Linked DNA regions of Homo sapiens: regions 1, 3, 4, 5, 6 and 7 are each linked to region 2. Evidence: promoter capture Hi-C in 16 types of primary human blood cells and fetal thymus (Javierre and others, 2016). All regions are on one chromosome and are shown on one strand. Each heading gives the region's core, a stretch centred on a gene start or on the middle of the fragment in contact. The rest is flanking DNA. Distances are from core to core; before and after follow the strand shown.

Region 1 (3,457 bases), core at 78-2,577, 4.4 Mb after region 2:
ACAGCACCTGGCCTAGGATAGTTTTCTTTAAAGCCACTGTGTTGTAAAAGGTCAATTCTCACCTCGTTGCTGGCTGCGACTAACTTGTTCGTTTTCCCCTGTGCTTCGGGAATATGTTACCTCTGTAAGATAATAAACAACAAATAGTGTGCTTAGCCTTTATTCATCAGACCCCTGCCCTCCCACCACACAAAACCAGGACGCAAAATTCAAATCATTGAGCATCTGCTGCTGCACAGTTAAAGGCCCCATCTGGTTTTCTATGTCTACAAGAGGTTCCGAATACACAGAGACTGGGAAAGGTTAGGACTGCATTAAAGCAGCTCCAAGTGTTCCAAATTTCCAGTCATCCTTCCAGTACATTCCATACAGGCAATTTTCCTAGCAGCAGATTTTGTTGTTGTTTGTTTAAGGAGTTTCCCTCTATAGTCCAGGCTGGAGCACAGTGGTGCGATCACAGCTCACGGCAGCCTTCAACTTCCAGGCTCAAGCAATCCTCCTACCTCAGATTCCTGGGTAGCTGGGATTACAGGTGTATGCCACCATACCTGGCTAATTAAAAAAAAATTTTTTTAGGCACTTGTCTCGTTACGTTACCAAGGCTGGTCTCGAGATCCTGGGCTCAAGCAATCCTCTCGGCTCTGCCTCCCAAAGCACTGGGATTACAGGCGTAAGCCACCCCACCCAGACAATGGCTGCAGATTTTGAGGGCTGCACTGGTCAGAAACTTGGAAAGCAAAGAAAAGTGATGTTTTGCCAGTTTGTGCTTAAAACTATTTCAGGGTAATAATACCTGCTATAATCGTATCGGCAATCCTTCCACAATGACCAGACATGGCAAGATGAGTGGAACTTTTGTTTCTGTCTCACTTATTCAATATTTATTACACGCACCATCTATGCCCGATACTAAGTGCTGGGAAAACACAGATGAATGGCAGCCCCCATCTCCTTCAGCTCCCTCGCTCACTTTAGGTCATTTTCTCTCAAATTAAGTGTGTGCGTTACAGTTAGGAGTATGGGGGGAGCGGGGAGGCAAAAGGAATCTGATGTTAATCCCTCCACCGCCCCAGGCTGTCCCCAGGGCCACAAGTACCTCGGAGATTGCCCTCGTCGCTGAAGGTAGTGGTAAGGACCCCCTCGGTGACCACGCAGCCGCAGTCGGAGCACACCAGCTGGCTCTGCGAATAGTGCGAGTCTTCCACCAGCTCCGTGGAGCCGCAGTCCGGGCAGCGGCCTCTGCCTGGCATCTCACAACCGGCCCCAAAGCCGCGGAAGCCTTCAGAGACTCCTGGGTCTGCAACAGCAACCGTGAGGCAGCAAGAAGTAGGAGGGGACACTTCAAAGGGTTGCACCCCCGTCTTCCGGCCAGCGCGACGGAGGCATAGGCGGTTCCCTCCGCTGGGAGGCTGCGCGCCACTTCCGGTCTGTGCCTCCGCGGGCTCGGGTAGAAACGTGAGCTAGGAGAGGAGGTTCCTGGGCTGAACTGTAGCTGTCTGGTTTCCCTGCACTCTGTAGTTAGTTTTTGGGACCTAGACTGGGGTTGAATTTGGGAAAGTTTTTGCCTACATGGACACGTATAACAGACAGAAGATTGTTGTCACCCCTGAACAACCCTCCTTTTAAAGTCCTAAGGGAATCGCAGGTTGGTAATGAATGTTTAATTGGCCATAGAAGAAAGTATATTTTTTAAAGGGAGAGTAGTGGAGAGAGAGCGGGAGCAGGAAACTGTGTTCTGCTTTCCAGAGCTGCTTCCTAAAGCAGATTCCTTCCTCTCTTTACCTCCTGTTTTTCTCAACTGTAAAATGAGGAAGTTGAAAAAAAAATCCAGAGATGCAAACCCAAACGCTTTTGGAGGCCAGGCAGGAATGTCTAAAGGAGTTTGGAGTGAAAGAATATGGAGTGATGGAGACCTGGAGCGGCGCAAGCACGCAGATTCAGATGTTTTTTAAAAAACCTTGAGCTATCTGGGCGTGGTGGCTCACGCCTGTAATCCCAGCACTTTGGAAGGCCGAGGCAGGTGGATCACCTGAGCTCGGGAGTTTGAGACCAGCCTGGGCAACATGGTGAAATCCCGTCTCTACTAAAAATACACAAAAATTAGCTGGGCGTGGTGGTGCACGTCTCTAATCCCAGCTACTCAGGAGGCTGAGGCAGGAGAATCGCTTGAACCCAGGAGGCGCAGGAGGCGCAGTGAGCCAAGATCGCGCCACTGCACTCCAGCCTGGGTGGCAGAGCGAGACTCCATCTCAAACAAAATAAAACATACCTTTAAGAAGTGTCACTCCCTTCTTTTCCACACCCAGTTTTTACACGTGATATCCAAACCTAAAGACACCATCCCTTCCCTAAGAGACTGCTTTCTCAGAGTGTGAGAATCACTACTCCTTTTCAGAGACATCCCGTCCATTCCCATGGGGATCGCTCACATTGGAGGGCCAAGAGACACAATAATACCCAACGGTCCTTTCTCTTCAATTTGAATTACTTTAGTATCATAACAGAAGGGGGCTTCAGCACATTAATCGTGGGTGGGATCCGGCAGTCCAAGCCCCCCCGCCTTTTCTAGACCTCCCCACTAGCGTGAGATACAGGATGAGAGCTTATTTCTGGCTGTCTGACAGTTAAATATTAAGATACATTTGCACATGCGCACCCGCACACACACACCACTCAGAGACATCCATTAGTTTTAGTGTGGTTGACATTCTTATTTGGATGAAGAAAGTGTCCCTGAAAGCGACATAACTTGCACTGGGAACAGTTCCTTGCATGATCACACAGCAGAGCATCAGACTCCCCTCATCCCCAGTTGTGTGCAGATCTTGAACCTACCTTCACTTTTTTTTTAAGCGGGACTTTACAGAGCCCATCTACCTAGGACAGAAGCCTTGAAATCCTGCCTGACCCAACCTGATTGATTGTAAAGTGGAAAAGCAGTTTTATGATCCTGCAGCCAGCCACGGAAGGAGAAAGCTGGTTGTCTTTCCCAGTCACACATGATGTACTTACTGGGAGCCTAGGAGAGCCTGGTCCTCGGGCACACACAGGCTGGGAGGGGGCAGGGTCCAGGCCAGAAGATGGCGCCCTCTACTAAGATGTGTAAGTTTGGGGTTCTCCACTTTCTCAGGAAGAAGTCCATTTATTTGGGAAATGTATTTGCCTTGCTCCAGGAAATCTGGACAGACGTGGAAATCATCTTGGTGCCCTCTCCACTGCTCCCAGTTCTTCTAAGAGTTATCATTCCTGGTAGTGATTATCTTATTTTTTAATTTTATTTATTTATTTATTTTGAGAGGAGTCTCACTCTGTCGCCCAGGCTGAAGTGCAGTGGCACAGTCTCAGCTCACTGCAGCCTCCACTTCCCGGGTTCAAGCAATTCTTCTGCCTCAGCCTCCCAAGTAGCTAGGACCACACGCGCCCACCACCATGCCTGGCTAGTTTTTGTATTTTTAGT
Region 2 (3,707 bases), core at 782-3,281:
ACCTGTGGGTGGCCTCCCGGACACACGCCATCCTTACTGAGACTGTGTCCTTCTTACACTTTTGTTATTAAAATGGTCTTGTTACTGGAAAGTGGTCCCCAATCAGACCCAAGAGAGGGTTCTTGGATCTTAAGCAAGAAAGAATTTGAGGTGAGTCCATAAGTTTCGTAAAGTGAAAGCAAGCTTATTAAGAAAGTAAAGGAATGAAAGAATGGCTACTGCATAGGCAGAGCGGCACCGAGGGCTGCTGGTTGCCCATTTTTATCGCTATTTGTTCATGTATTTTTTGAGACTGATTCTTGCTCTGTTGCCCAGGCTGAAGTGCAGCGGCTTGATCTCAGCTCACTGTAATCTCTGCCTCCCAGATTCAAGTGATTCTCCTGCCTCAGCCTCCCAAGTAGCGGGGACTACAGGTGCCCACCACCACGCCTGGTTAAGTTTTGTATTTTTAGTAGAGATGGGGTTTCACCACGTTGGCCCGTCTGGTCTTGAACTTCTGACCTCGGGTGATCCACCTGCCTCGGCCTCCCAAAATGCTGATTACAGGCGTGAGCCACCAAGCCCAGCCTATTTATTGATTATATGCTAAACACGGAGCGGATTACTTACGCCTCTCCTTTTTAGACCATATAGAGTAATTTCCTGATGTTGCCATGGCATTTGTGGCGCCAGTGGGAGTGTAGCAGTGAGGACGACCAGAGGTCAAACTCATTGCCATCTTGGTTTTGTGGGTCTTGACTGGCTTCTTTACTGCAATCTGTTTTATCAGCAACATCCTTATGACCTGTATTTTGTGCTGACCTCATCCTGTGATTTAGATGGCCTGACCCTCGGGAATGCAGCCTAGCAGATCTCAGCCTTATTTTACCCAGCCACTATTCAAGATGGGGTTGCTCTGGTTCAAATGCCTCTTGACAGTCTTTCTTTCCTTTTCTTTTTTCTTTTTCTTTTTTTTTTTTTGAGAGGTAGTTTTGGTTGTCACCCAGGCTGGAGGGCCACAGCATGATCTCGGCTCACTGCAACCTCCGCCTCCCGGGTTCAAGCGATTCTCCTGCCTCAGCCTCCCAAGTAGCTGGGATTACAGGCACCTGCTACCACGCCCGACTAATTTTTGTATTTTTAGTAGAGACGGGATTTCACTATGTTGGCCAGGCTGGTCTGGAACTCGCCCGCCTAGGCCGCCCAAAGTGCTGAGGTACAGGCGAGAGCCACCGCGCCCGGCCCGGCCGACAGTCTTTCTTCTATAATACGATACAAACTAGTAAAGATTTTCTTTTTCCCCTGGCGGAAAAGAGCTGTTAGGCTTCCAGATTTGTTTTTGTGGGTTATTAGACCTCTACTTTTCTTCTTGGTATTTTCCCTCCCTTATCAACTTTGTTTGTTGTCTCAAATAGGCAATGAGGAAGACACAGGTGTTTATTATTATTGGAATGCTCTTTCCATTTGGTCAGTGGTTTCTCAAAGCAGGAGGAATTCAAGTTCTGAGTTTCTAAAGTCAGGACCCGGTGCCGCACCCAACGTGGGCGTGGGGAGTGGCTAAGTCAGGGTCTGAGGGGCAGGGCCGGGGCCTGGCTGCGAGCTGGGGCCGGGGGACTCGGAGGAGCGGGGACCCAGCCCCGCCGCGCCGCCTGCAGCTTTCCCCAGCCTCCTCCCAGCAGAGGGGAGGCCCGACAGGGAGGGGTCCCATCCTCATGAACGGTCACAAACAGGGCGCTAGGGAAGCACGCCCGACCCCCGCGGTCCCCGCGCTCCAGGATTCGGCAGACTGCGCGCGTCCTGCCTCCCGCGGATCGCACTGGGTCCCAACAGGGTTCCCAGCTCCAGGCTGCGCCCATGAACAAGCCCAGCATTGCGGACGGGCGCGCGCAGACGCCAGCGTGGTGAAGACGCGGGGGCGCGCGCGCGGCGACGAGACTGCCAGGGGACGCTTCGCAACACCGAGAGTCTCAGCGTTTCTCGAGATAGGTGAGGCTGCGCGTTCCGGAACTGGTTTCCCGGAAGGAGCATGTCTGCGCCCGCGATCCGACCGGAAGTTGCACGCTGAGCCGCGGACACCATGCAGTCGGATGATGTGAGTCTCCTCCGGTTGTTCTTACACCCGGGGTTTGCGCAGGGAATTTTGCCCATTTTCGGACACTTAGAAAACGCGTACGCAGCGGGTCTGTTGCCTCGTGCCGCTCTGGATGTGAGGCTTCCGGAACCCCGATTTTCCAACATAGGTTCTCACGCGTGTCTAGCAGGGGTTTACTGCCCGCTGCCCCGGCCGGGTTGTGAGCACAGGACTCCGTCACCTCAGCCCATGGGGTCGATGTGTCCCGTCCTTCGTGCCTACCAATGCAGGACGTCGCGTCATGCTGTCAGCTGTCAGCTGTCAGCTCCGGACTTGGGGTGGGGGGCGGCCCGGGATTTGGCGAAGCTGACTCCAAGTTTAAGCGTCCTTCTCATCCATGTGCGCGTTACTCTTCCATCTGCGTTTCCTGTGTAGGCTTTTCTTTACATTTGCTCTACTTCTGCCTAAGTCATAATTTCGGAAGTATCCTAGATTCATTCATTGAGTTTTTTGTTGGAGAAATAACAGTGTGCTTACAGTGTGCCAGGCATTGTGGTAATTATTGAGGATTTGGTTAACCAGAAAAAATGTCCCACCTCTCCTGGAACACTGATGGGGGAGACACAGTAAACAAGTGAACAAATAAGTTAACAATTACACTATATAATCATACTATGAAAGAAAGACCAGAGATGATGAAGGACACTTCAGATAGGGTTACTCAGGGAAGGTTTCTCTGAACAGAAGATGTTTGAGTTGAGATCTAAAAGATAAGAATAAGCCAGTCACTGAGGAGCTGAGGAAAAAGCAATCCAGGCAGTAGGAACAGTAAAGTACAAAGAGTTGAAGATATGAGAGAATGAATATAAGGGTCATCAAAGTGACAATGTAAGACAGGTAATGAAATTAGATATGCTTGCCAGGGCGAGGTCATGCAGAATCTTGTAGGAAGTGTTTTTTAGGCCTTTTAATGATCTATGTTTGTGAAAAGTTGTCTAGTTGCTGTGTGAAGGACTTTTGGAGGGAAAAAATGAAAGCAAGGAGACTAGGGTATGACAAAGGTTGCTTCAAGCCAGACACAGTGGCTCATGCCTGTAATCCCAACGCTTTGGGAGGCTGGGGCTGGAGGATCGCTTGAGGCCAGGAGTTCGATTCCAGCCTAGGCAATAAAGTGAGACTCCATCTCTACAAAAAATAAAAAATTAGCTGGGCGCGGTGGTGTTCGCCTGAGGTCCCAGTTACTTCGAAGGCTGAGGCAGAAGGACTACTTGAGCCGAAAAGTCCGAGGCTGCAGTGAGCTATGATGGCACCACTGCACTCCAGCCTGGGTGACAGAGAGACCCTATCTCTAAAGTAAATAAATTTTTTTAAAAACGAAAGTGGCTTCGCCTAAGGTAGTAATTTAATGGTGGAGATGAAAAGAAATTGATGAATTTGAGACCTTTTACGTCAGTATAATTGACAAGACTTTGGTGATGGATTAAGTGAAGAAGAAAAGGAAGAAATCAAAGGATTTGGGATATAAATACATAGTTAAATGGTGATTTTATTTATTGAAGTGGGGGAACTCTAGGGAAGACTGTTCTTACGAGGGATGTGGAATTGAGAACTCCTTGTGGATATGTTAATATTTATGTTGCCTTTTAGATATTGAAGA
Region 3 (3,739 bases), core at 780-3,279, 4.6 Mb before region 2:
AAAATGTTGAGGGCTTGTAATTTATAGCCCGAGATTTCCTGTTTTCATGTACAACCTAGGAAGCCAACAGGATTCTACAACCATGTAAACTGGAGGAAGAATCCAACACTCTCAGATCCAAGGTGAGGATTAACCACGCCCCTTTCTAATGATTTCTTAAACTGACCTTGGGGCAGGATTTGCCCCTTTCAAGCAATCTTCTACATAATCTACAATTGCACTCGGTGTTTTACTTGTCTTCCACTGGGAGCAGTCCATGAATTCATTTCTTTGCTCCATCTGTTTTCCCAGGAGAAATGGCAAGTTAAAAGTTTGAGCCAGTAGAAATGAAACAGCATTTTGAACAAAGGAGCAAAGACCACTGAAGAATGTATTTCGTGGCCTTCTCAAGTTTTAAAATTTGTAAACACAACTACAGCATGTAATTTTCTCCTTCAAATTTAATAAGTATAGTATAACAAGCATTTAAATGACCTTCCTTTAAGACTTTTAACAAGCCGGCCTCTGCAGAGCGCCATGGATTCTGAGGCACTCAGGCCCCTCCCAAAGGATTAACATTAATCTTAAAGTCACATTCAAATTTGTGTCTCAGCAAAATTATAAATAATTCCATGTCACAGGGGTCAAATGTAATGGTTAAAATGGAAAGCGTTAAAATTGTGAATGCCAAGGGTATACTGTGGTTGCATAAAAAATCTTTGTTGACTGAATAAGCCAGAAGATTCTCTCCATCTCAGGTACTATCTGTAGGAAGTACAACACACAGGCTGCATTCTTGAACTGCTTTGGATTATTTTATTCGCTTGACTCTTCATCTATTTAAATGACTGGGTTCCTGGCCATGATGTTTCAAACTTAATTTCTGTCAACGTGCTCAGAATTTTTTGTTCCATGTTCTTTCGGTAAGGACCTTTGTGAATTCCAGTTTCTATCCTTAGCTGAACTGGCCATCAGCGTACTCAGTTAGGCTCAATCTATACAAATAACAGAACATGCTCTAAAATGTGCTAATTTAAAAGATATATTTCTAATTTTCCTCTGCTTTCTAAAATGATTCTGGTTAACTGAAAATGCCAATGAGTTTTCTTCAGTTAAATAAAGCTGCCTGAATATTGCATATTATAAATACGGAAAGCCACTGAAATCCTCTGAGTTGGTATCTAAGAAGGAGATACCCAAGTATTACGTTATAATGGCATCCATTGTTTTCATGTGGGTGTGTGAAAAGCCACCAAGAGGGTGATGTGCAAAGTTAGAGAATTATAAATGGTATCACAGGAGCTAAATTTGGAAGATAAAAAATACTAACTTCAGCACCAAATTAGTATGCTCTGATATGGGGGCCTTTAGCTCATCAAGAAAGTCCTCAAACTTAAAAAAAATTTTTTTTTAACCAATAACCTTAAAAACTTTTTTTTGTTTTTTGTTTTTGAGATAGGGTCTCATTTTGTCACCCAGGTTGTAATGCAGTGGTGCCATCACAGCTCACTCCAGCCTCAACCTTCTAGGCGCAAGTGATCCTCCTGCCTCAGCCCCTCAAGTAGCTGGGACTACAGGCACATGCCACGACGCTCAGCTAGTTTTTGTATCTTTTGTAAAGACAGGTTTTGCCATGTTGCTCAGGCTGGTCTAGAACTCCTGATCTCAAGCCATCTGCCTGCCTCCGCCTCCCAAAGTGCTGGGATTACAGTCATGAACCACTGCACCTGGCCTGAAGATCTTAATTGAACCACACTTGCATTTAAAGCTAATTTTTAAAAATAGCCTTGAATATATTTTCTGTATGCACTCTACCTTCTTTTTTTTTAAGAGATAACCTAGGCATGGTGCAGGGTGCTAGAGTTCCTACCCTCACTAAATAACAGGGAAACCTGGGTTTCGATCTTGGCTCTATCATTTTTAATCCATGCTAACTTTAAGCCACTTACTTCACCTCCCTGAAGCTCACATTTTTTGTCTGTAAAATGGGAATACTGTCACCTGGATCAAAGGATTAAATGGGAAACTACATAGCAAATACTTAGCACATTGCCTGGCACACAATAATTGCTTTATAAAAGGTAGCTATCATTCCTTTTTTACTTCAATGGTTACTGCTTATTGTAATCTCTTTAATTTCACTCTTTAATCTTTTCTCAAGGGTATCCATAGACCTTGATAAACCTTCAGAAATTATTTACCAATTATTTACACAGAATCTACATGGGGGAGGACAGACACACGCCAATAATTACAAGTGCTACAAATAGGAAGTATGCCATCAAATATATAACAGGGGTACTTAATTCAACGAGGCCCTGAAGAAGTGTTATTTAGACAGAGATCTGAAATATATGAAGAAATTAGCCAGGCAAAAAAGAGTGAGGCAGGCAATGGAACATATTCAACCAAGTTAAGTGTAGGAGGTTATCCTAAGGGCAAAGGAAGATACTGAGAGGGTTTCATGGAACTCTGCAATTAAAACAACTTCCGGATGCAGAGGAAAGAATGAATTTGAGAGGGTTAAGACTGAATGCAGAGAGACCAGATAAGGGGTCTTGTTGAATTCCGATTACAAAGACAGTATTCTAGTTGGACTGGAGAGAAATAGAACCTATTTAAGAAAGCTGCATTTAGGAAGCAGAATCAATAAGAGGTGGTCATAGATTGTGTGTGGGAAGGGTACTCTGGAAAGTGAATCTCAAAAATGAGAAAATGCTAAACAAAATGTGTTTTTGTTTCATAATTATAAATTTAAAACACAGCCTATTACATATTTCTGAAGCAGTACACAAAATTAAAACTTTTAGGCCATGGGAGGACTTATTCCAACCATTTGGGAGGCATGACACACCCATCTAACTTACTGAGCAACAATGCTTTTGGTATGTTGATGGGAATTCTCAATTACATTTATCTATCAACTACCAAATAAATTTTAGTATGTAATACATAGTTGCAAAGTAAAGAGGGAGTATGAGTATCAATAGAATACTTCCTTTTCCTCTGAGACATCTTTGGTTCTTAATGGAAAAAATAATTTTCCACTTTTTTACAATCCCCGGTTTCATATTTCTAAATAAATTAAGCAGGAGGATTTTATGAGCAAACTAAAATATATGTAAAGTAAACCCTGGCTTTTTGATACCCTCACTAATGAGTTGTTATGGGAAAAACTATTTCACACTTCCCTGCCTTCTTAAACTGAACACATTAAATATAATTTGCTCTTTATTGAGAACACAGGGTCCATGCTTTAGCCAATAAGGTACCAAGCTCTTATGCTCCTATAAGCTGACCTCTTTCATGGAAGGCCCTGGCTTACTTATCCTTATCAGTTCAAGAGTCACGTTTCCAGGAAGCTGTCCCCTGACCTCCCCAATCCTCTGTTCTCTGAATTCCCAAAACCCTGAACACGCCTCTATTTCACCATGAACACAGTGAATTATAATTTCGGACCAGGCATGGTGGCTCATGCCTGTAATTCCAGCACTTTGGAAGGTTGAGGTGGGCAGATACCTTGAACCCAGGAGTTTGAGACCAGCCTGGGCAACATGGTTAAACCCCATTTCTACAAAAAAAATAAGCAGGGTGCAGTGGTGCGCGCCTGTATTCCCAGCTATATGGGGAGACTGACGCGGCGAGAGGATCGCTTGAGTCCGAAAGGTGGAGGTAGCAGCGAGCTGAGAACGCGCCACTGCACTTCAGTCTGGGCCCCACAAAGCCAGACCCTGTCTCTAAATAAATAAATAATAACTTT
Region 4 (3,452 bases), core at 1-2,500, 4.3 Mb after region 2:
TTCAGGAAATGGCTCAGGTTAATTCTCAAAACACAAATTGTTGCTGGCCAGGCATGGTGACTCATGCCTGTAATCCCAGCAATTTGGGAGACAGAGGCGGAAGGATCACCTGAGCCTAGGAGTTCAAGACCAGCCTCAGCAACAGCAGGAGCCCCACCCCCCGTCTCTACAAAAAAATTTAAAAATTAACTGGGCATGGTGGCTGAGGTGGAAGAATGGAAGAATCACTTGAGCCCAGGAGTTTGAGGCTGCAGTGAGCTATGATTGCACCACTGTACTCCTGCCTTAAAAAAAAAAAAAAAATCCCAATAGTCCATGAAGGCTTTGATCTCTTGGGAAGTTCTTCATAGATGCTGTCACATTTCTTAAAGCAACCTTTTAATATGCAGATAATACCCCCCAACTTTTTTAGAGACAGCCTGTCTCTTAAAAAAAAAATTAATTTGGTAGTGAGAGCTTGTGTCACTGCCACTCTGTTTTATCCCTGAAATTAAAGGATAACATAAGGAGGACTTGGGCCTTTCTGACATCATCCTGAAGAGACAGGACTTTGCGTTTTTCCTCTGGGACCTACAGTGATGAGAATTTAATGATTATCTCCTCCACTATAATCCTCTTTAGGGTGATTTTTTAAATCAAAACCCAGTGAATCTCATTACTCCTAAGAAACGAAAGATTCCTTCAAAGCCTTTTCAGGCACATGGTTTCAACAAAGCCTGGCTTTGACATTCCTTGTCCTGAGGAGCACTTTCCAGGCATAGTTACAGCTTCCCCACTGTATTTACAAGCCAGAATTGTGCAACTCTTCTGGATCATTAATAAAGTAGCAAGATCCTCAAAAAACCCAAAAACACCATTCTCTAATAGTCATGACAAATGGCTTCAGTATGGCTTGTTTTTTATTTTCCAGATGGCTTTTTCTCTTATTTTTTGAAGCCCCAGTCTTTGATTTTACAGGTAACTTTCAAAACATCATGATGCTGCCAAATGTACTTTTGTAAACTTAAACATTATGATTCCTGTATTATTTCAGTGAGAGCTACAGTGTGATATTTCAGAGTCTATTAAATAAAAATGTGAGTTTGAATTACACCATCTGTGCCAATTACAAAGCAATTAAAAGATTTATTTTTTATGATCTGGTGTAGTGACTGAATATAACAGGTGGGGGCATTGGAACCGACGGGAAGCAGCTATGCTGGTGCCTTGGCATTGTGCCAGCCTGGCTTTGGAGGAGGGCTTCCCTGGGGTCACAGACGCAGCCAAAGCTACACCATGGGTGAGAGGGATTCTGAACTTCTAAGGGCAAGAAAAAGGACATTTCAAGAATTACAAAAATAGTTACCCCTCACTGCAAGAGACTTTTGAATTGCCTCTAGATGGCGACATTGGCTAACCTGAGGGACAAGCACTGGCTCTCCACTGTCAGTAGTTTACCTTATGAGGGACTCCTGGTTACTCAGTCTGGTGGAGGCCAGAGAGGACATGACGCTCTCAAGTGATAGTGTGACTTGCAGAGCCTCAGGGGTTCGATACCAGCTAGCCTGGGCAACACGGTGAAATCTTGTCTGTACCAAAAATACCCCGCCCAAAAATTAGCTGGGCATGGTGGCACATGCCTGTGGACCCAGCTACTCCAGAGGCTGAGGTGGGAGGATCGCTTGAGCCTGGGAGGAAGAAGTCACGGTGAGCTGAGATCGCACCACTGCACTGCAGCTTGGGTGACAAGGTGAGACCCCATCTCAAAACAAAACAAAAACAGCGAATAAGGAGGAAAGCCAGGGAAGGCTCAATCAGATCTAGATAAGGGAAGGACACCAAAGTGTGTCTAGGGTGTCCCCAGCAGGATGGGATATTTTGCAGAGAGAAAATTGAGCCAGGTTGTGAGTTTGTCTTTCGTTACGCATGATGGGTGGCAGGTTGGGTTTCTTCCAGATTTTCATGAAAGCCAGTTCCTGGAGTTTGGACGGCTTGCTCTCCTGGATTGGGCCCACCTGTGCAGCCTCACAGTCTCTGAAGGCGCTGGGCCCTTGTCTGCCCTGAAGCCAGCCTCAGAAGGCTTGAGACGCCACAAAACCTCCCAATAGTCCATCAAGACTTTGATCTCTTGGGGAGCTCCTCACAGATTCTATCACAGTTCTTAAAGCAACCTCTTAATACTCAAATGGTACCCCCCACCTTTTGTTTAACATTGATGGCATATGCAGCACTATTCTCTATATTCTCTCATTTCACCATCACAACAGCTGGTAGACTTGTGTAGGCTGATAGGCAATGTCCCTTTGTGGACGGGGCACTGGGGCCCAGAGAAGGTTCCGTGTTCTCCTTGTCTGAGGTCAGAGTGAGTTGTGGCAGGACGAGAAATAAACTCAGGACTTGACTTTCTGGCCCAGAACATGGTCACTACTCCACACTGGTATCTTCTATCTCTACCTTTAATAATTGATAAGTGGCATATTCTTAGATGTGCAGCTTTCATTTAAACGAGCCTTATTACCATAAAATAAGTGTGTGTGTTTCTATTCCAGTGGAACAGCTGAGAATTGACGCATCTTAATGCAGAACAAACTTTGAAACCACAGGCAGTGGGGGTGAGAAGGAAGGAGAGCATTAAACCCAGCCATGAGTGGGATTGGCCTCCCCTCTCGTCATCCCATCTCCCTCCCAAGCTCATTCCTCATGATTCAAGCTAATCTCACAGGCTGCAGGGCCCAGAGTGTGCAACCCTGTGCCTTCCCCCTGAAGCTGGACCAGCAGTGAATTCTGTTCCCCAAGGCTAGACACACAGGAATGAGGTCAGACAGGACATTCTTAAAATCCAGGACATCTTCATCCTTCAGAAAAGAAGTGGTCGTGTGCATCCCACCAAAGCTTTGAAGGAGGAAGTACTCGCTTACCAATTCCTGAAGGGCTGCAGTAGGAGTGGAATGTCACCAGTGGTGCAAGGGGAAAGGATTTCTCTGGGAACTGTGACTGTCTTTACCATGAAATTAGTTGAATGCTATTACATCAGCCTCATGACTAAGGACAAAAGAATCCAGACTGTCTACCAAAATGTTTTACTAATCTGTCCTCCCCTCAAGGAACACATAGGTAAAGAAAAGGGCTTCCTTTTCCACCCAGTTTGCACCAACGTGTGTAAACTATGGCTCTGTGTGGTTAAGCAGCTACTTGCAAGGTAAGGGTCCTTAAACTTAAGTTCCTCTTCTATAATCACGTTGAAGCCTCAAGGGACCGCAGAGCTAACACTTTTTTTTTTCCTTTAAAGTGCAGCACAGAGCAGCTGAAACGGCACACAGTGGGGACAGCAGGAGGGGCTTTTGGCACTTTTCTTGTATTTAGAATAAATTTTACAAGCCCACACTCCTGAGCCTTGAGATCACAGGGAGCAGAGGCCACTCTGAGTGCCGGAGTGCCTTCTCGAATGGTCCCATCTGCACCAGCTGCCTGGA
Region 5 (3,851 bases), core at 1,019-3,518, 4.9 Mb after region 2:
CAACTGAAGTTTCAATCAAAAAACGAACAAACAAAACAACAACAAAAAAACCCTGGCATCTCAATGAGACTCTAAGAACTGCATGCCTACTTCACAGATCATTGCACTGTGCTGAACTGGCATCTGGAGATTGTATTGAGCCAGCTACATGAAGGCAAAGAGAAGAGATGGGGAAAAGAGAGTTTATTTAAAAAAGAAAATACTATTCTTAACACACTCATCACTTAACACGCTCATCACCTATAAGCAAGAGCTATCAGAAATACTATTTAAAAATACATACATTTCTAATTTTTCAACATTCAAAATACAGCAAGCCGATAATCTACCACAAGCAGAGCTTCCTACCCCTTTCACCCGGACACAGCGCTTTGCCAAGAGCACAGGCCCAAGTAAAATAACCGATGCAATTTCCTTGTTTACTTAAAGAATTGCAGAAAACATGTTGACTGCTTCTGAGGCTTCCGAAACAAACGAATTTTCAATACGTAAAAGACTTCACGATCATGTTTGATATGTAAGCGTAGTAATGATTCCTTCAGCTAGTAAAAATCTAGTTTTAAATTGATTAAATGGGTTAAATTTACACTGCAGCTCATTAGCATACCTTGTTTGCAACCAGAAGGAAGAGGGTAAAGAGAGGGAGAAAAGCATCAAAAAGGTAGTGATGGAAAACATCACTACCTCCTTTGGCGGTTATGAATAATTTAAAATGACCCAAGACGTAAGGGGAAAAGAGTTCATGAATAGAAAGAAAGGGGGCTAACAGTCTGAATTGGCCCCTTCCAGATTCATACTGATGTCGGAGAGGAAAAGGAATTTATTTACACTGCAGTGCCTTGGCAGCAAACATGGCTGCCCCTGCCCCCTTTAAATCGAAATAATCTTCACTCCCTCCCCAAAACCATCAAATTATGGCCATGTCTCTCCCTGCCTCCCTTCCATAACACAAACACATCGCCTTCTCCCTCAAAACAGTAAAACCCACACCTCCCCATTTCACAACAATCACAATCCCATAACCACCAGCTTCTCTATTCTCTAGCCTTGAAAGAAAGACACAGAATACACACAAATACAGGAACAAAAGGCCTCCCTTCCTAACACTTTAACGACCTCCATCCCCTTCTCTTCCTCCCACTCTGACGCTAAGTCGATCGTTCTCATCCCTGTCATCATTCAGTTAATTTCCTTCCCTAGCCCAATCCTGTCTTCCAGTTTCCTGCGTCTATTTCCCATTCTCCTATTGCAGCCTGCCTCATCCCCTTTCCTAATCCACCTTTTCCTTCACTTCCATTCCTCATTTCTCCCTTCATTCCCATAAAATGCCCCATTTCTCCAGCAAATTTATCCCCTTCTCCCAGACTCTTCTGGTTCCTACACTCCATCCCCAAATCTCCCTATTTATCAGTCCACCCAGGTCTGTAATCTCCATGCAACTCTTCTCCCCTTTCCCTGCCCCTCCCCGATCCATCCTTATCCCCGCCCCCATCCCACTTTCCCAATTCCCAGCTCAGCGCCACTCCGACTCCCATCCCACTCCCCACCTCCCCTGGCCCACCCCCCAATTCCCTCCACACCCCCCACCTTGCCATCTGCTCCTCCGTCAGGACTCCCCTCGAGCCCTTTCAGGCCACCCGCTTCCCCTTCCATTCCTCCTGGGGTCTGGCGCTCCATCCCTAGGTCGCCCCCTCCCCGTCGTTCCCTCCTCAGCCCTTCCTAGCACTACACACGCGCGCGCGCGCACACACACACACACACACACACACACATACACACACGCACACGCACTTTACCTTCAGTTTGTTCCATTCTAACCCCCCGGCCGTGTCAGTGCGATCACAGGAGAGACACGGAGGCCCGGAGTGGGGCTGGGGTGCGGGCAGCCGCTGGGGCCGCGCGAGGAGGAGGCGGAACCGAGCTAGGCCGCATGAAATCCCCGGGCTAGATTTTCCCCGCGCCGGACGCCTCTGCCATGGCGGCCGGCACTGAGGAGGGCCACGGCCGGGCCGGGCCGGGCGTGCTGCGGGAAGAGGAAGGCTCGGGAGGTGGGATGGGAAGGGGAGGCCGAGGGACGGGGGTCGCCGCGCCGCCGCTGCTGCCAGAGAGGAGCCTGCGGCTGGCAGCCCGGCCTGGGTAGCACGGTCCTCGGCGCTCGGCTCGGAATTCGCACGCCTCTCCGCGGCGACCTGTGCACAGCCCCCTCGGCCTCCGCCTCCGTGCTGGCCGCCGCCGCCGCCTCTCCCGCCGCCGCCGCGCACAAAGCCCCCCCACCCCGACTCTCGGGGCGCCGCCGCCGCCAAATCCTCAGCCCCTCATTGGCCGCGGGCCGCGGCGCCTGCCGGGAAATGCAGTCCCTGGTTCGGGACGCTGGGGCTCCGGAGGAAGCGGCGAGTCGGCGGGGCGGAGGGGGCGGGAGCGCGAACCAGGAACGCCCGCGGCAGCTAGCGTCTGGACGACTAGGGAGACCGGGCGAGAGGGCCGAGGAACGAGGGACGGGGAGGGACTGTACGTGGGAGAGTGACACACAAAACACCCCGGGAAGCCGGAGGAGGCGTGGAAAGGTGGGGCCCGGGAGGTAAAACTGGGATCGGCGCGTTCAGTGAGGCTGATTAAAGAACAACGCGCAACCAGCGCCATACGGCGCTCCTCAGGGTGACTCGGCTCTCTAGCTCTTAAGGGTTAGAAGCGACCCTCGCACGGTCCCCGGTGGGTCACCGCGCGAGGGCGGGGCAGTCCAGGCGACCCCTCGGCCGTCTCCCGTCCTACGGCTGTCAGGGAAGGGCTCCGGTTCCGGTAGGGTCTGCATTTGGAAAGCCGGGGGCGATGCAAGACCGCCTTGGCGTCGTCTCCCTCTCAGCCCCGGCTGAGCTGTCGGATGGTCCCCCTCCCCCGGTTGCAAGCAGTAGGAGACCCGGCCGGCGGCGCCGGCTCGCCGAGGGAGCGCCTCGACCTCCCCGGCAGGCGCCGGCCCCGCGCGCCTCTTCCTGCTCTGCTGCGGCCCGGAGGCTTGTGGGTAACCGGGAGGACGACGTCAGCGCCCGCCGCATCCCCGGGTGCCCCCCAGCCGCGGGGGACCGCGACGGCTCCGTGACCGTCACGTGCCGGAGGCCGCGGCTGCTCGCGGCCAGACCTTCGCATCGAGGGACGTGAGGGACATTTGTCCTAGAGGGCCCAAGATAAGAACGAGAGGAAGAACCGGGAGGCAACTCTCCGTCATCCTCTAGCCCCCCGCATCCTAGGAAACGTATGGAAAACAATGGAAGGTTAAGTGTGTGCACAGTGATCTGGCCCTGCAGGAGTGTGCCGACCAGGTGATATTTCCTGGGGCCTGGTGATAAGGATTTGGAAGGTTACAGCACAGAGACGTGAACGTAAAAAGGAAACAGAGGCAGCAAGCAAATGAGGAAACCGATACTCTGTTCTGAGAATAAAGCCATTTTACCGCTAGACGTCATACTCTGTAGACGTTATAGTGCTGGATGTCTTTGGTACTATTACAAGAAATTAGATATCTCTATCTTTAAATATCACTTAAGGAAATTAAATGATTTCTACAGATCAGTTATTTAAAAGGGCACTAATTATGAACTATTTTTTTTAAACGTAACCCGGTTAATACTAGATACTGAGAATTATCAGTATTGGCTGGGCGCAGTGGCTCACGCCTGTAATCCCAGCACTTTGGGAGGCCGAGGCAGGCGGATCACGAGGTCCGGAAATCGAGACCATCCTGGCTAAGACGGTGAAACCCCGTCTCTACTAAAAATACAAAAAATTAGCCGGGCGTGGTGGGGGGCGCCTGTAGTCCCAGCTACTCAGGAGGCTGAGGCAGGAGAATGGCGTGAACC
Region 6 (3,967 bases), core at 688-3,187, 4.3 Mb after region 2:
TCACGCCACTGCACTCCAGCCTGGGCAACAAGAGCAAAACTCTATCTCCAAAAAAAAGAAAAGAATCTGATTTGGCCCTGTTGAGAGGAACTGTCCAGTTCTGGTCTCCAATTTTAAAAATGAAAAAAATTTGAAGAAGCTAGAAAGAAAATGTTAAAACCAAAAAGAAAAAAAAAGTAATTAAGAAATAAAGCTCATAGGTTGATGCCAGAAAAGGCAGAAGGGACATTTAATGACTTCACGATTATAAAAGTTACATACTGGTAGCTAAAAAGAGGAAATTCACTTGAATAAAGGAGGATTTGTAAAGAATTTACTTAAGATCAGGCTTGCTAAATTTTCAAATGGGGAGGAGTAGTTACTTGCAAATAGAAAATAAATATTCTTCTCTGATGGTCTTCAGAAATTGTGAAGACTCTGTGCTGTTTGGGATGGTTTAAATGTCATTCTTTCTGTATGAAACCTCCCTAAGTCTTCCCTAGGTCTAGGGTTCTACTATCTCTATAGACATTTCAAAGGCCAGATGTGATGGCATGTGTGCCAAGGGCTTGCTGTCATGGGCTACTCTACCTGAATTCATTTAAACTGGGATGGGACATGGGCATTATTTCTCCGTTTCTCTTTAGAGCTAAGTAACCAGGCAACAGTAATTTTCTATTTTACTTTTTACTTTTTTATCCCCCTAAAAGACTCACAGTAGGCTCAGAAGGAAACAATTTTTAAATCCATATATGTTTTTCTCATAATTTGGATTTATTCCAGACTATGAGGGTGTTTTAAAAGCTTGATGGCATTGATGGTGAATAAGTATACTAGATTTTAGATTATTTATAAAATCTGTTTCTCTGGGCATTTGGCTTTTTAATCTTTCTCTTTTCCCCTTGGTCCTTGCAAATTATTGGAGCAATTTAAAGACAATTACTGGTGATGAAATGATTTTGGACTTGTATTTTTCAAGGATTAGGTAGTAGGGGAGGATGAAAGGTTAAATTGGATGGTTGATGTCCCAGGAAGAGGAAGAGAAGAAATTAAAAAAGCAAATAAGGAAAAAAAGGGACAAAGTGAAATAAAATTAATTCAAAAGTACAACTAAGAAGAAATTGGAATGTGAAATGACCATGGGACTGGGGGCACCATGATCTTTTTGTCTCCATTTCCATTTTCATAAGACCACAGAATGTCAGAGATGAAAAGCGAGCATATTGGAAGTAAATCGGCAGTAAAGCCTGTCTTACTCAGCCTGGTCTCTCTCAGGGTTCTTTACAGAGTAACGCCTCAGTAAATGTTCACTGAATGGATAAGGGGGTGGGAGGATGACCTTGCCTTGTAGTTCAAAGAATAGAGGTCCCTGGCTGGGCACGGTGGCCCACGACTGTAATCCCAGCACTTTGGGAGGCCGAGGCGGGTGGATCACAAGGTCAGGAGTTCGAGACCAACCTGGCTAACATAGTGAAACCCCATCTGTACTAAAAATACAAAAATTAGGCGGGCGTGGTGATGCACGCCTGTAGTCCCAGCTACTCGGGAGGCTCAGGCAGGAGAATCACTTGCACCCAGGAGGCAGAGGTTGCAGTGAGCCGAGATCGCGTCACTGCACTCCAGCTTGAGTGACAGAGCAAGACTTCGTCTCAAAAAACACAAAAAAGAATAGAGGCCCAATCTAGTAAATGAAGCTACAACTACTTGTTGTCATAGTGACGTAACACCTGGATTATACATTCCCTAGATCTGTGAGGTATTTATGGTTTTAAAATGTTTTCCAAATAGCACATTATTTGAAGTGTTTCATCTCACCCAATCCTTCCTCTACACATCCCATCACCATGATCCCCTCTGTCCTCCCCATCACTCACTGCTGGCTCGCTCCTTCCCACCTGTGTCTCTACAGCAAGCATCTATTATGCTCACACCACAAAGGGCCATTCTGGTCATTTTAAATTTTTTTATCATTTTGGTTGGAGTACAGATGTATCAAGTCTAGAGACATTTTATCTGAACACAATTACTCCTAATGTTGGCAGTCCTAGTTTGCAGATAACCCAGTTAATGTGTACCAGGGTAAATGACCAGAGACTTCCCAAAAAGAAGTCCCTTATTTTAAGGATCTGAGGTTCTGCCTAATGTGACTTTCCCAGAGCAGAAGATGTGAAATTCCATCTCTGTTCCTGGGAGTCTGGGGAAAAACTGTGAGAGGAGAGAGTAAGAATATTGCCCCTTCTTTCCGGAAAGCTCTAATAAACCCCATCACCTCAAGACAAGACCACCTGAAGAACAAACATTAGCCATTTCTCTAATATAATAGCATCCCACTTCATTAAGTTGAATTAATGTTTGAGAAACTTTCAACAGAAATTGCAGCCAAGAGTGCTTTCCTTAACAAAATTGATCTCCTTCTCCTTGCCCGTAGCACCTACTATTTCACCACCTGACTATGTAGCATTCTGTATTATTATTTGTATGGCCTGGCTCCTCATCAAGTTTATAACCATATTGCCCACAGAAGGGGACTCAAGAATCAAACTCAGGGCGTTGTGGTGCCCGTTTGTAGTCCCAGCTATTCTGTGAGGCGGAGGTGGGAGGATTGCTTGGGCCCACGAGTCCCAGATAATCTGGGCAACATAGCGAGACCCCATCTCAAAAAAAGAATCTAACTGAATGTGCTGAGCTCCTGCTAGACCATCTAAAGCTGCCTGTGGGCTGGGCGCGGTGGCTCGCACCTGTAGTCCCAGCTACTGGGGAGGCTGAGGCAGGAGAATCGCTTGAACCCGGGAGGTGGAGGTTGCAGTGAGCCCAGATCGGGCCACCGCACTCCAGCCTGGGTGACAGAGCGAGACTGTCTCAATAATAATAATAGTAATAATCATGCTGCCTGTGTCCCCTGATGAGACAGCACTGGCCGCAGGTGGCCGCTAACCTCTCGAAATAGGGATGGCCCGAATTGAGACATATGCAAGTCAACACTACACCGGGTTTCAGAAACACATACGATTTTCAAAAGAATTAAAATATCGCATTTAGTTTTTCTATTGATTGCATGTTGAAATCTTACTTTGGATATATTGGATTAAATAAAGTATATCATTAAAATTTTTAAGCTTATGTGCCTATGAGAAACTTCCAAATTACACAGTTGGATGGCGTTATATTTCTCTTGGACAGCAGTGGTCTGAAAGATGACAAAAATCACGATACGTTTGAATCACGCCATGTCTTTAGGGAAAAGAAGAAAGAAGAGTTTCCTTTCGTATCGCTTAGGGGTTCCTCGCAAGAACCATCTGACAGAGAAAAGCCCTGGCTCCCGCCCCAGTGGCTTCTAATTCTGGTCCCCGCGCCCAGAAAGCCGGGAACGGGCAAGCCTGGAAAGGCGTTTTGAAAGGAAACAGGATCCCCCGAGTATAGGATGCGTTTCTGCCTCACAAAAGTCCCTTGGGGGTGGGGGGACGGCAGCGGCTGAGGCGCAGGAAAGAGGAGAGCACACGGGGAGTGGCCCTTGGAACCAGGCGCGCAAAACCTCAGCCCCTAGGCTCCATTTCCAGGTTCGCGGGTGACCTCCCCAAGATGGCCGCCGCCTGGGGGCGGGCCTCCACGCTGCACGGGTGTTGATTGGGTGAGACGACTCAATGATGAGCAATGATTGGTTCACACGGCGCAAGCTGGGCGGAACCGGAAGATGGTGTGAGCCACGGGCTGCCGGGGGCCTGGGGCTCGGCGTCGGTCCCCGGGGGATGTGGAGAGCTGGCAGCATGTCGGCCGAGCTGGGAGTCGGGTGCGCATTGCGGGCGGTGAACGAGCGCGTGCAGCAGGCTGTGGCGCGGCGGCCGCGGGTGAGGAAGGAGGCTGCGTGGGGACGGTGGGCGGCCGCCTTGAGAAGAGGGACACCTGCGTGGGAATGGGTCGTCACGGTGACGCAGAGGGGTCTCCCAGAGAGGCGGGACTGGTCGGCCGCCTAGGGCCACCGAAAGGCTAG
Region 7 (3,727 bases), core at 61-2,560, 4.3 Mb after region 2:
CTTCCCGGTGTAAAAGTTTTTCTTTTACTGAAGGCTATAATTAAGTGGACTCTTTCTCTCCTGCAAACAAAATATTAATAACCTCAGTGGCTGAATTAGAAATGCCCCAATGTGATGCTGGTGAATAGGGCAGGTGGAGGACAACGTGAGGCCCTTAGACTAGGAGACACAAACTCTGGATTCCGGGCCTGGTCCCACGTTGCCTTCAGTCTGTTTTTACTGGGCACCTAAGCCCCGGGGGTGCGGAAGGAAAGTCAGTCTCTGCTCTCCCGGGAACGTACAGTTTATCTAGAAAGACGAAGTGCACTAGCCCCTGTGCACTGTGGCAGGAGTTTAAAAAGCAGTGAACTCAAGATATTAAGGAAACACAAAGGAAACTTTCCTTGGCTTTTACCCTTGAACCTCGCTGAACTTCTTAGATTCCGTTCATTAAAATTAGAATAATAATTCCTTGTTAATATACTTTGTGGCGTTGCAGGATCCCAAGGGCCAAAGCTCCCAGAAAAATATAAAGAACAACTCAAGGTAGGGATTTTTGATTGGTGAGGTAATGATGCTAATCTGTACATTGAAAAGACTGTTTCATTTCAGCTGTGCTATAGGAAAGCAAACAGTTGCAACTCGCCAGTACCTTATCAAGGAGAGAAAAAAAAAAAGGCCGCGCATGGTGGCTCATGCCTGTAATCCCAGCAGTTTGGGAGGCCGAGGCAGGAGGATTGCTTGAAGCCAGAGTTTGAGACCAGAAATACCAAGACCCTGTCTTTACTAAAAATAAAATTGTCAAGTGTCGTGGCGTGCGCCTGTGGTCCCAGCTACTCAGCAGGGTGAGGTGGGAGGATCGCTTAAGCCCAGGAGTTCGAGGCTGTAGTGAGCTATGATCGTGCCACTGCACTCCAGCCTGGGCAAAAGAGCGAGACCTTGTCTCTAAAAAAACCAAAACGAACCAGGTTCGGCCTAATGCAGAAGGAAATCCGGAGCAATCCCCAAAGTCAACGCCTTGGAAAGGTTCGCCCTGGGTCTCAGTACTCCGGGGCATGCGCGTCCTGCCGCTCGCTCTCGGGGAGCTCCCACCAACACCGCCCTCATCCCCAGCCCCAGGACGGATACCCAAGACCGAGGTCCAGGACCGCACCGACCAAGTCGCGGGCGATCCCTGGCGGCCAGCTACGGCCATTGACCGCTGGGAGCGCGAGGGGCGGGGCGCAGAGCGAGCGCGGGGCGGGGGTGTGGTCTTCTCGCGTGAATTGATGGCGTCATCGAAGCGACGGCCCGGAAGGAAGTCGCGTGCTGAGGGGTGTGACGGTTTTCTTGCTCGTGGGCTCGGACGAGTACGGAGCGCCTGCAGGGACAGCCTGGTACGCGGCCCCCGCCCCTTCGTGCGCGCGCTGGGCCTAGCTGCCGCTCAGGGTCGGGGCTGACCCGTCACTTTCGGGAACCTCAGTCCCAGCAGCTTCTCTCCCTCAGCCGGCCCGCTCCTGGAGAGAGACAGAAACCCTTTTCTGTCGCGTCCTCTCCTTGCGAGCCGCAGGGGGACCGAGCGGAGGCTATTGGAGCCGCAGCCCCAGACCAGGGCGCTTGACCCTCTCTCGGAACGGGGCGGGGAAGGGGCGCGAGTGACCTCGGGGAGGGAAGGGCACTGGCAGGAAAGGACGCAACTGCAGATCGGTAGCCGGAGGCCGCCACGGTAAAATAAGCGCCTCGCAGATGTCCGCGCCCCGGTTACGTTAGACCTGGGAGGCAGAATCCACGCCCTGCGCTCACGGGCCCACGCACGCACAGCTGAACTTTGCAGTCAGTCACCATAGTTCCAGATCATTCAGCGTTCAGGATCCCACTCCTCCGCGTCCTGGTGCCTGAACGCGGTTGGACCTAGGAGCCTAGAGGCTCGCAGTTTGGGACATTGCCTTTCTCTCTGACCACGGGCTTGGGGATCTGTCAGGTGCAAAGTGCCAAAGTATATGGGGGGGAGTGTGGCTTCAGGCTTGTTCAGAGCCCTGTCCTGTTTAGGGCCAAAGGAATAACTGGGAAGGTGGATGCGAGGCCAACGAATCCTACCTTGAAACTCTGCTCGCCTGCTGGCTCTGCCACTCCAGCATCTGAAAGGAGTAAATAATGGTTTCCTTTGAAACTGCAGGCAATTAGGAGTGGGAGACTCTGACCAGAATTACATAGCCACAACTGCCTGTCATTTGGCATCCTCTGTAATTTGGGCCAAAGTACTGCAGCTGCCTCTCTTCCCTACTACTGGTAGGAAAGGTTCAGTGACAGCACATTCGTGTTCACAGGAAGACAAGGCTGTGTTCTGAACCCTACCCAGCTGGCACGGGTTCTCCCTTGAGCAACGGCTGTATCCGGAGCCAGTGCTTCCTCAGTGCGGTGGGGGCTCTAATTTTACAGTTAAAGAAAGGGGAACGTTGACTGAGAACGAGGAGGAAGCGAGTTGTAGATCTAGCCTTGTGTTCACACGACACCAGGCTGGATATGAGTCACTCGCAGGGAGCTCAGCTTGGTGAGGTCCTCTCGCTGTTGTGGCCTTTTCTCCTGCACGTTGGACCACACACATTTTCCCGTGTCTTTTCCCTAGGATAAAGGCTCACTGATGGCTCAGTTGGGAGCAGTTGTGGCTGTGGCTTCCAGTTTCTTTTGTGCATCTCTCTTCTCAGCTGTGCACAAGATAGAAGAGGGACATATTGGGGTATATTACAGGTAAGGCAGAGACAGGGAGAAGCCGGCAACTTCCTGTTAAATAGCTCCCTTTCCTGGTCATTGCTTTCCTAGCAGATTCTGCTGAACATCTCTATTTATATTTCCTTGAATAGGGGAGCCTTTTCAGATGGAGCTTTTTATGTCAGTAACCACGGGAAAGAGAATACACACACACACATATATATGTAAATTTAGAACTTCACTTAGTAGTCCAAGATGATGCCATGGGTGGTGATTAATAAATGTGTATATAGATTTAGAGACAAAATCTAAAGGAAACTGGTGCTCCTCATTGATCATCCCTAAAATACTGTTTTCTCCTACATTCCTCTGGCAGTCTTAGCTCTACATCCCTCTGGCAGTCTTAGCTCTACATCCCTCTGGCAGTCTTAGCTCTACACTGCTAGGTTACCTTTACAAAAGCCAGCTGAGTACCAGTTCTTGATGGCAACTTGAGAAGGTAGCCTACTCTGCTAATTTGGGATGCTCTTTTAAAATTAACATTTCAGCCAGCCTGGGTCACATAGTGAGACCCTATCTCTAAAAAAATAAAATAAAAAATAAAATTTTAATTGGCCGGCTGTGGTGTCACACACACGTAGTCCTAGCTACTCAGGAGGCTTAGATGGGAGGATCACCTGAGCCCAGGAGATTGAGACCAGCCTGAGCAACATAGTGAGAGCCCATCTCTACAAAAAGTAAAAAATTAGCCGAGCATGGCAGCACGTGCCTGTAATCCCAGTTATTTGGGGGGCTGAGGTGGGAGGATCACTTGAGCCCAGAAGTTTGAGGCTGCAGTGAGCTATGATCACACCACTGCACTCCAGCCTGGGTGACAGAGCAAGACCCTGTCTCTAAAAATAAAATAATATTAACATTTCAAGAAAAATGAAAGAGCCTGCAGGTTGACTTACGTCAATCAAAGCAAGCCTTAGGATAGTGGTTCCTACAATAAAGGAACCCATTATGTCACTGTTTATTTTATTGGTTTTTTTTTTAATTCTTTGCCTAATATAAAGCA

What was found. The method cuts DNA at HindIII sites, captures the fragments that hold promoters and counts their contacts. A CHiCAGO score of 5 or more calls a contact.
Region 1: a contact is called between the fragment with the promoter of BRF2 here and the fragment with the promoter of MAK16 in region 2, in 1 of 17 cell types (erythroblasts). The highest score is 6.0, in erythroblasts.
Region 3: a contact is called between a fragment that was not itself captured here and the fragment with the promoter of MAK16 in region 2, in 1 of 17 cell types (naive CD4 T cells). The highest score is 5.7, in naive CD4 T cells.
Region 4: a contact is called between a fragment that was not itself captured here and the fragment with the promoter of MAK16 in region 2, in 1 of 17 cell types (erythroblasts). The highest score is 6.2, in erythroblasts.
Region 5: the fragment with the promoter of NSD3 here is called in contact with the fragment with the promoter of MAK16 in region 2 in 1 of 17 cell types (fetal thymus); the score reaches 5.6 in fetal thymus.
Region 6: a fragment that was not itself captured here is called in contact with the fragment with the promoter of MAK16 in region 2 in 4 of 17 cell types (activated CD4 T cells, naive CD8 T cells, erythroblasts and 1 more); the score reaches 9.3 in activated CD4 T cells.
Region 7: the fragment with the promoter of ERLIN2 here is called in contact with the fragment with the promoter of MAK16 in region 2 in 5 of 17 cell types (naive CD8 T cells, naive CD4 T cells, activated CD4 T cells and 2 more); the score reaches 10.8 in naive CD8 T cells.

What each region holds. Positions count from the first base shown.
Region 1 is chr8:37,848,534-37,851,990 of GRCh38, forward strand. It overlaps BRF2 (BRF2 general transcription factor IIIB subunit), which reads right to left and starts at 1,328. Exons shown (of 4, transcript NM_018310.4): 1 at 1,097-1,328; 2 at 63-122. The coding sequence starts at 1,250. RefSeq lists enhancers at 1,004-1,143, 1,184-1,533. The HindIII fragment of the contact is 8,285 bases long and covers 1-3,457 here.
Region 2 is chr8:33,483,151-33,486,857 of GRCh38, forward strand. MAK16 (MAK16 homolog) reads left to right here and starts at 2,032. Exons shown (of 10, transcript NM_032509.4): 1 at 2,032-2,071. The coding sequence starts at 2,057. RefSeq lists enhancers at 1,188-1,824, 1,812-1,961 and silencers at 1,452-1,641, 1,852-2,039. The HindIII fragment of the contact is 3,746 bases long and covers 182-3,707 here.
Region 3 is chr8:28,884,835-28,888,573 of GRCh38, forward strand. The region is part of intron 1 of INTS9 (integrator complex subunit 9); the gene reads right to left. Among named protein-coding and RNA genes, the nearest start is that of INTS9, 3.3 kb to the right of the region's middle. The HindIII fragment of the contact is 4,325 bases long and covers 1-3,739 here.
Region 4 is chr8:37,778,631-37,782,082 of GRCh38, forward strand. It overlaps PLPBP (pyridoxal phosphate binding protein), which reads left to right. Exons shown (of 8, transcript NM_007198.4): 8 at 1-1,138. Among named protein-coding and RNA genes, the nearest start is that of ADGRA2, 17 kb to the right of the region's middle. RefSeq lists enhancers at 1,859-2,359, 2,300-3,452. The HindIII fragment of the contact is 3,237 bases long and covers 1-2,869 here.
Region 5 is chr8:38,380,003-38,383,853 of GRCh38, forward strand. It overlaps NSD3 (nuclear receptor binding SET domain protein 3), which reads right to left and starts at 2,269. Exons shown (of 24, transcript NM_023034.2): 1 at 1,797-2,269. It also overlaps a transcript of LETM2 not described here. RefSeq lists enhancers at 792-1,326, 1,617-2,407 and silencers at 2,056-2,455, 2,486-2,635, 2,826-3,175. The HindIII fragment of the contact is 5,398 bases long and covers 1-3,851 here.
Region 6 is chr8:37,758,935-37,762,901 of GRCh38, forward strand. LOC124901934 (a long non-coding RNA gene) reads right to left here. Exons shown (of 2, transcript XR_007060889.1): 2 at 1-3,879. It overlaps PLPBP (pyridoxal phosphate binding protein), which reads left to right and starts at 3,711. Exons shown (of 8, transcript NM_007198.4): 1 at 3,711-3,824. The coding sequence starts at 3,726. RefSeq lists enhancers at 3,260-3,339, 3,440-3,899, 3,477-3,771 and a silencer at 3,399-3,719. The HindIII fragment of the contact is 2,312 bases long and covers 782-3,093 here.
Region 7 is chr8:37,735,324-37,739,050 of GRCh38, forward strand. ERLIN2 (ER lipid raft associated 2) reads left to right here and starts at 1,311. Exons shown (of 12, transcript NM_007175.8): 1 at 1,311-1,355; 2 at 2,585-2,706. The coding sequence starts at 2,600. It overlaps LOC102723701 (a long non-coding RNA gene), which reads right to left and starts at 2,103. Exons shown (of 2, transcript NR_125821.1): 1 at 2,056-2,103; 2 at 1-1,475. RefSeq lists enhancers at 1,184-1,393, 1,873-2,665. The HindIII fragment of the contact is 8,102 bases long and covers 1-3,727 here.